3 separate regions of the Homo sapiens genome follow, and all the other regions are linked to region 3. The links are contacts of gene promoters, found by promoter capture Hi-C in blood cells and fetal thymus (Javierre and others, 2016). All regions are on one chromosome and are shown on one strand. The core of a region is centred on a gene start or on the middle of the fragment in contact, and the rest is flanking DNA. Distances in the headings are between cores, read along the strand shown. Region 1 holds the start of LINC03082 (long intergenic non-protein coding RNA 3082). Region 2 has its middle 6.6 kb from the start of IRS2. Region 3 holds the start of LIG4 (DNA ligase 4).

Region 1 (2,700 bases), core at 78-2,577, 1.9 Mb after region 3:
ACATTCTCCTTCTAATGAGCACAGCACACTAACGTCTCTCGGAGGGGGCCCAGCTCTCCTCACGTTCCTCTGGGCCCAGGCTCCCTGCCAGCCTTTTCTCTTCCCCAGAGCATTCAATCGCTGTCAACAGAGCCAGACAAGAATAGAAGCCGCTCAGAGACTCTCTTTTGTTTTGCTGGGACACTTCAGCACATTCTCATGGATCCTTCAAAGGAAGGCAATTATCTGATCATTCTTGGGAGCAATTAAAATGTGGAAGGATACATCCTGCTTCAACCCGCCGAGTTTGTCTTTCCAAATCACATGGGCAATTGATTACACCATCAACAAACCCCATGTAACCCTCCAAGGAACGAGGTGCGTCCCTTGCAGTAGAAAACCGATAACCCAAGACATGAAGGTTCGAATGGATGATTGGCTTAGCTGGAATTGTGCTCCTCTGGAGGAGACTTTTTAAATGTATTCCTAGTTGCAAGTCCAGAAGCAAGGGAAGTGAGGCCCTCAGGGTTCTATCAGAGCCTGGGAAGGGGAGGAGAGCAGAGATGCTAAAGCAGTAGCAGAAGATCCACAGACCCCTGGAAGGACATGGAAGCTCGCTTTGAGCTGCTCCTTAGTTCATGGGGGTCTCTCCAGCATAAAGAGCTTCCTTCCTAAAATGGGAAGAGGGCTGTTTGCACAGAGAGAAGCGTAGCCTTAATACTGTACTTTGTCCATCCCTCCAGAAAGCCCAAGGGAGGGGGCAGATGGTTCATCTGCAAGTGATCCCAGGCCTAAAGCAAAGAGATGGATGGTCGGAGCCTCCGCGCGGTTTTTCCTGGCTACCTCCATACCACCATGTCACCTCTCTGTAAAGGCGATATAGGGAGCACCATCTGGGTGTTGTAGCTCATCTGGCTGTTGTAAGGAGTAAATGAGATGGGACGTGCCACACACATGATATGTGCCCGGCTCACAGGAGGCACCTTAGTAAGTGGTCACCATCAGATATACTAGTGAACCTGAGAGTGGCCCTTACCAACGTGGAAGGCTGGGGTGTTTGTAATCATCACTCAAGGCAAAGCAGAAAGAAATCTAGGCTATTTTTTAAGACTCATTGTGTTTGGTCACAGGCAAAAATAGAATCCATCCTCATGCAACCATCCTTTAAATAGTATTTCAACAGAGGGTTAAAGTGTTGGTTTGGGGTGTGAGAGTGATACCTTATTCATTCAGAAGTCCCTCAAAGAAGAGGATGGAGAAACAGACACGATTCCATGAAATGATCACTTTCCCCAGGCAATCACACCAAGGAAGGTCAAAGAACCTCCTCCCCGAAGGTTCACTGCTGGAGGTGGAGATCACAGCCAACTGACAATATAACTGCTGGCAGATATTTTTAGGTGGAAAGTCCCACCGTTTCCCGTACCTCACTGTGACCCTCATTACGGCATTAGGATGGGATTACCTTGCTCTCTTCTGAAATACTAGCTTATCCGTGGCACCAGCAACAAATACAAGCAGCTTGTCTGATGGAAAGGTCCTCTACTTAAGAACTAAACTTCCCCCAAATCACAAGCCCCTTTGCTGAAACAATGAAAAATTTAGGTAAGCTCTGGATTGAACTATTTCCCTCCCTTTGAAATAACTGGATGTTTAGTCATAACAAATAAGAATGATTCTGGTATCTTGTGGTCACGACATAGCATTTTTATGTTTTTTTTTTTTTATTTTTCACTTTACATCTCACTACATGGACATGCTACCTTCAATTCAACCCCAGGTTACATCAAAACCTCTTGACCTTTCATTTAAAGACAAATAAAAGGCAGCTGCTGGGCTGTGAAATTGTGAATAACAAACGGAACCATTATTTGAAAGGTTTCAAATTCTGATGAACAGAAAGATTATTTTGGAAAATCTATAGCGGAGAGTAGTATAATTATAACTTAGATTTGCGTGGTGCTCAATCCAAACTCATCTCCAAACTGAACGTGGTTTTCTAACAATAACATTCCTCCAAAAAAGGGGGCAGCCTACAAACCAACATAAGCGTAAGATGCACTTCCTGTCCAGCTAAAAATAAACCTGCAGACATTTGAAAGCAGCATAGAATCCTTTCTAACAATAAAAACAAACTCACCCATGTCGTTGGGCCAAGGCTTTGACATTTTAAAAATCATTATGGTGAAAAATAAACGCAACCTATAACGTGAGCTATTGTTAGAAATCCTTGAGAAAAATGCCTCAAATAGAGAACTCGAACGTCCACTCGCTAAAAATGAAACCGTTTTACTTGGGCATTGTCAAAGGTCGAATGGTTTTCTCCAAAAATGATGTTGAAGTCCTAACCCCCAGGACCTCAGAATGTCACCTTATTTGGAAATAAGGTCCTTGCAGATGTAATTAATTAGAACGAGGTCACATTGGAATGGGGTGGGCCCCGCATCCAATAAAACCACTGTCCTTATAAAAAAGAGGCACGCCACGTGAAGACCGAGACACACAAGAAGAACACGGGGTGTGGCTGAAGGCGGAGGTTGTGACGACGCATGTACAAGCCTGCAGGAGCATCCGCGAGCACCGCTGGCCCCACCGGAAACCGGGAAGAGGCAGGACAGCTTCTACCCCGAGCCTCAGAGACAGTCTGGCCTTGACATCACCTTGATCGTAGAATTCCAGCCTCCAGAATGGTGAGACACAAATTCCTGTTATTTTCAGCCA
Region 2 (2,700 bases), core at 84-2,583, 1.6 Mb after region 3:
AGAAATGTATATCACTGCCCACTTAAGAGTTTAGAATACTAGCCAACAAAATAAAAACAAGAATCTAAATTCAGTATTATTTTAGAATGTTTACCTAATCAAAAATAAGTTATAATCAAGATTTGCTTATCTGGCAAGCCAAGTGTTTTTTAATTGTATTTCTCCCCTACATTGACCTTTAAGTCTCACATTCTTTTTAGGATAAGCCAAAGTCATCTTGAAAGATTGAAAAGCAAATTGGAAAAAGTAAGATAGGAAAGAAAACATACTCTGAAAATGACACATAACAAAAATGTATTTTAAAAACATAAATAACAAATGGCAATAAGCATCGAATGTCACTATCTTTTTGATTGCGTAAAATTATTTGAACTTACATACTCATTACTAATTTGGCAATTCTAAATTTACAAATTACACCTTCCTTCTTAACTGCTTTATTCTCAATCTTTAGGCATTGCAAATAGAAGATATTCAAGTTAGTCAAAGTGTTCAGAGCTGTTATTCAATAGAGTGAAGGGATCTGAAAACTTATTTGCTACTGAACATGTCGTTGAGGTACTTTTATGGATGAAAAAAAGTTGATATATAAAATATCAATAATAGTAATAGCTTGTGAGAGTAGTTTGTCAGTATACTCACAAAGATCATGAATTTGACGCTTACTAGTATGAGGGATAAATAAAAAACATTTTATAATATGTAGCTACCATAAAGATACGATTATGACACAACTGAGAATTGAGCGGTCTTTTAATTCTCCTTTTGAGTAATCTTTACCAACCTGTCCTCTGAGCCTCCGTGTATATGCTATGTTTAAGACCAATGATTAGCTATTTATACATGAATTTTCCATTTTTCCTTGTTCAAAACACTTTTGTCACACAAATAATATTAACTAAACTAAAGTGACTTGAGGGAGTATGGATTAATGAGGTTCACAAGAAAATAAATAAAGCAACAACTTGTGAAATTTAGGGCAGATGCCATTTATTGCCATTTCCCGCTGACTGTTAAGTAGAGATTTCAGTTCAGATAAACACATTCTAAGAATTACTACTGAAAGTGTAAACATCAGCCTGCATTTTAGTACTTGCTGGTTCTTTAGTAAAAATTTCGAATGTCAGCCCAAGGTTGTCTTGCTAAAAGAGAAAAAAAATAGGAATTATATATTGAAAACATCTTAAAATTATATTTTATACTACAAAAATTTCCTTTTAGGTAGTAAAAGTGAGAATTTAAAAACATGATTCTCACTGCTACTAAAAGCACACAGAAAATGAAATACATATTTTTGAGACTTGATACTTACCTGTTTTATTTTGATAAACTTGTACCTAGTTTTAAAGTTTCTTCACACTAAAAGTACACCACAATTTCAAAATGGCACCCTTGTCTCTCACAATATAAACTTTAAAGGAAATTAATATCTAGATCATCATTTTGCTTTGTTGTTTTAAATATCATCATGTTTTAGTTACAGAATAATACAAAAGTGGGCTCACCCTTTATCGTGAAGGTGCATTTATGGCATTTTCAATTCAAAATATAAAAATCCGCAAACATTGTTACTAAAAATGTGCTAGATATTTGTTAAGCCTCAAACGTATACTAAGAATTACCCAGAACATAGGTCTTTGCCCCATTAGCTTTCTGTCTAAGTAATAAGGCACTATTTTCCTCAACTATTTCTTTCCTCAAATATTTTTTTCTTGTGTCTTTTGTTACAATATTGCCACACATAATTTGAAGATAAAAATTGCCATATATTATAACCATCATCTGGCTTTTTTAAAAAAACTTTCTTAGTGCTTGATTTTAATGTCCAATGCTGCAATTTTACCTTCTTCTTACTAATGGTGTAGAGTAGAGAAAGTGACTTTTATCTCTGAGCTGAGGAAGTTTCTAAATTTCATTTCACAGAAATTAGTTTTAATGAGTCAAACAGTAATTCTATTTCTTTTATTTTTAGGTTGCTTCCTTTAGAAGGTACCGTTTTGGACTCTTGACGCTGCCTGGGTCCATAGTGTGAGGACCCATCTGTGTAGTAGAGAATAATACTCAATAGATGTAGTGATGTAGTTATGCTGTGTGGTGGTAAATTCATTCTAACCCAGTGAAATGTTGGATTCGGTCAAATTTATCAACGTTTCTTAAGCACCTACTTTGTACTAGACACTGATCCTGTGGACATCAAAATGCAAACCGACCACAACCACTCAGCTGTGTCTGCTGGGAAAGGCCCTCCTCTGTGCGTCTCTCCTGCTCCCACGCCTGTTAGTGGGTCAGTGAAATACGCAAGACCCTGGCTTTGCTTTACTCAAGCCTTTTTTAAGGGTTGTGCTTGCAGCAAACCACACTAAGAGGTGAGGTCGCATTCCAGAACAAAGTGCGGGCCTGCTTATTTCCTGCTACAAAAATGGTGGATTACCCAAGTCCTTTGTGTCAGCCGAAACACAGCCCACTGCAGGCGTGGCATCCAACAGGCCCCGCCCTGTTGCCCCATGCTGCCCGGGAAGCAAGAGGAATAGAGGCAAGTCATGCCACTTTCTGTGCCATGAGTCTCTGACCGGAAAGGCTTACATCCTCTGCCAGCATCCACCTAACGGTGACGGGCTAACATTACTTTCTAAGGGAAAGGGAGTAAAATCTCAAACCCTGACAGTGTGCTTAGGAAGCTCACAAATCAGTGGGAGGTGG
Region 3 (2,700 bases), core at 14-2,513:
CACAGCACTTAGTGACAATTTGGGACAATCTCAGCAAAAAGAAATGAGCAGACAAAGACGCTAGAAGGGCTTTGGGATCCCAAAAGTTAATGAAAGACCAAGTGTAAGAAGAGAAATAAAGTAATTCCCTCCAAGCCTAAAGTCTCTCCCGCTCCAATGCCCCCTGTACCCTCTCGGAAAATGGAAAATCCCTAAGGAGTCTACATCATTCCTCTGCCCGTTCCCCCTACTCTCCCCCAACCCTTCACGGATTCCCAGTGAATACCTGGCCTCGGGCAAGCTCCGTTACCTCTGTGAACCAGAGAATCCCAGCTGTAAAATGAGATCTTGATGGTTTCCTGCGGGGTTGCCATGAGAAAGAATCAACATGTACGCAGGTAAAGCAGGCAATACAGTTCCAGGGAGTCAAAAACGGGAGAAATCGTCCCACGACCTGGGGCTTGGGTCTAGATGAAGAGCACAGCATCAGGAGGCCAGGCTTCTAATGCGGCGCAGTCTACAGCGCTGTGGACTCGGCAACTCCCATCACCTGCCGCTGCACAAACACCCTGCTTGCTGCCCCCATAGACCGACCCCCGCCTGACGCCTCCCAGACCCCCCCACCTGACGCCCCTCAGGCCCCCCGCCTGACGTCCCAGACACCCCCACGACCGGATCCCCCAGACCCCCAATCTGACGCCCCACTTCCCCTACTTGACTCCCCACACATCCCCCGCCTGACGACCCCCCGACCCCCGCCTGACGTCCCAGACACCACCCATCTGATCCCCCAGACCCCCAATCTGACGCCCCACACCCCCCACTTGACTCTCCACACACCCCACACCTGCCACCCCACGTAAACCCCGCCTGACACCTCACAGACCCTAACCTGACGCCCCACAGACCTCCCCCGCCTCCTGCCGCCACACACACCCCAAACCCCGCCCCGAACACCCCCCACCTGCCGCCCCACAGATTCCCCCCTCTGACGCCCCACAGACCCCCAACGTGACGCCCTACAGACCCCAACCTGACGTCCCACAGATACCCCGCCTGACGCCCCACAGACCTTCCCCCGGTCTGTTGCCCCACAGACTTCTCGCCGCCTGCTGGACCACACCTTCCACTTGACTCCCCCCACACCGTCAATCTGCCACCCCCCACCCCCCCCACCCCAACCCCCCCCAACCTCCCAACCGCCCCCACCTGCCACCCCACACCCTTCCCACCTGACGTCAAGCCTGAAGCTCAGCCGCTAAGCCGGAAGCTGGCGCCAGAAGATGCCGGTTCCGCCAGCTGCTCGCCGCGCAGGCGCAGGGGAGACCCGGGGCCTTGCAGTCACCGGGCTCAAGCACGCCGGCGCAGCCAGGCTCGCGATGGGAGGTGGGGGGGCCGGCAGCCCCGTGGGGCTGCGGAGGCGGGACCTGCAGGATCCTGGTTAGGGTCTTGAGTACACACGGCTCCTATTGGCCTCGGCAGCAGATGCTCTCTGCAAGCAGTTGATCCACACGCCAGTGGATTTTGTCTCGAGGGAGACCTAAGATCACTTTGTGCTCTGGCTAGTGATAGCCTCTAATTCTTGTTCTCTGTACGTAAAACAGTGGTAACTATACTGATTTCGCTGGTTGTGAAAACTCCCAAGAGAGAACAGGACATCCTCCCAACTCAAAACGTTGGTTGTTTCATTTAAACTTTTAAAAAATAGGCTTTTGCAAACTATATAGAGCTGTTTTTTTTTTTAAATGATGTTTGCTACTGTGGTCTCAGTTCTCTTAATACAGAAATAATACATAACAATACATAACTTACAATATAGAAATAAACCGTTGCATGACCAGAAATCAACTATGGACTCTTCTAGTATCTGTTTAAGGTTTAAAAATAAAGTTATTTAACAAACCTTTATTGAGCACCTATTATTATATAGTAATGGTGCTAGATATTCAGGGTGGAGAGATTATAAACAACCCCAGTTTTTGTGTTCCAGGAGCTGTTGGTTTCCACCGAATTTTTGCTGTGGTCAGTCCTCTTTCGCCATGGAGAAGTGAGAAGTTATTCATAAAGAGGGGTGGAAACAACTTTTAGAACTATTTTATTTTAGCATAAAATATTGCTTTACAATAAAATAAATTTTGCTGCAGTGGGCCCTGATAAAACATATTAGAGCTGTTAAGTGCCCTTAGAGGTTGTGTAATGTATAAAAACCTCCTTTTTCAAAACTGACACATTTCATTCAGTGCTAGTTTGTAGCGGAGGTTCCGTCTAGCCCAAGAACATTCAGTTATTTACTTCGTATGTCTAATTGACCTAATATGCCTGAATATCTAAAATCATCTGTGATGTTGTAAAGTCTCATGATATTGTTTTGTGAGTATCTGCTCTTCAATTTAGTTATCAATTTATTTTGGAGGAAAAATGAATAGTGTTAAGGTAGAGGAGCCTCCACTTGCCCATCTTAGGAGAGGGTACCTATCCGTGTACATTTGTAGCTTGTTCAACCTCTACTGAGCTCCTACAATGTCAGAAGCTGGACTTTGTATTAGTTACATGAGAAGAACCATGAATTATGAAACCAGGCAAACTCCAAATTGATTCAAAGCCCAGTCTCCATTTCATCATGTTATTTTAGTTGATTGGTTCAAAGACAATCAAGGGTTTTTTTCACTAAGTATCTTCTAGAGTTGCCATGATTATTAATTTATTTATGTAAATGGTCTA

Evidence for each region. Contacts are between HindIII fragments. The CHiCAGO score rates a contact against its expected background, and 5 or more counts as called.
Region 1: a fragment that was not itself captured here is called in contact with the fragment with the promoter of LIG4 in region 3 in 1 of 17 cell types (monocytes); the score reaches 5.2 in monocytes.
Region 2: a contact is called between a fragment that was not itself captured here and the fragment with the promoter of LIG4 in region 3, in 3 of 17 cell types (naive CD4 T cells, monocytes and naive B cells). The highest score is 6.6, in naive CD4 T cells.

Annotation. Positions count from the first base shown.
Region 1 is chr13:110,126,738-110,129,437 of GRCh38, forward strand. It overlaps LINC03082 (long intergenic non-protein coding RNA 3082), which reads right to left and starts at 2,399. Exons shown (of 3, transcript NR_187462.1): 1 at 2,120-2,399. RefSeq lists enhancers at 1-169, 170-977. The HindIII fragment of the contact is 4,195 bases long and covers 1-2,700 here.
Region 2 is chr13:109,791,849-109,794,548 of GRCh38, forward strand. No RefSeq gene overlaps it. Among named protein-coding and RNA genes, the nearest start is that of IRS2, 6.6 kb to the left of the region's middle. The HindIII fragment of the contact is 4,709 bases long and covers 1-2,700 here.
Region 3 is chr13:108,214,273-108,216,972 of GRCh38, forward strand. LIG4 (DNA ligase 4) reads right to left here and starts at 1,264. Exons shown (of 3, transcript NM_206937.2): 1 at 1,212-1,264; 2 at 266-338. RefSeq lists an enhancer at 1,189-1,483 and a silencer at 1,327-1,466. The HindIII fragment of the contact is 5,824 bases long and covers 1-2,700 here.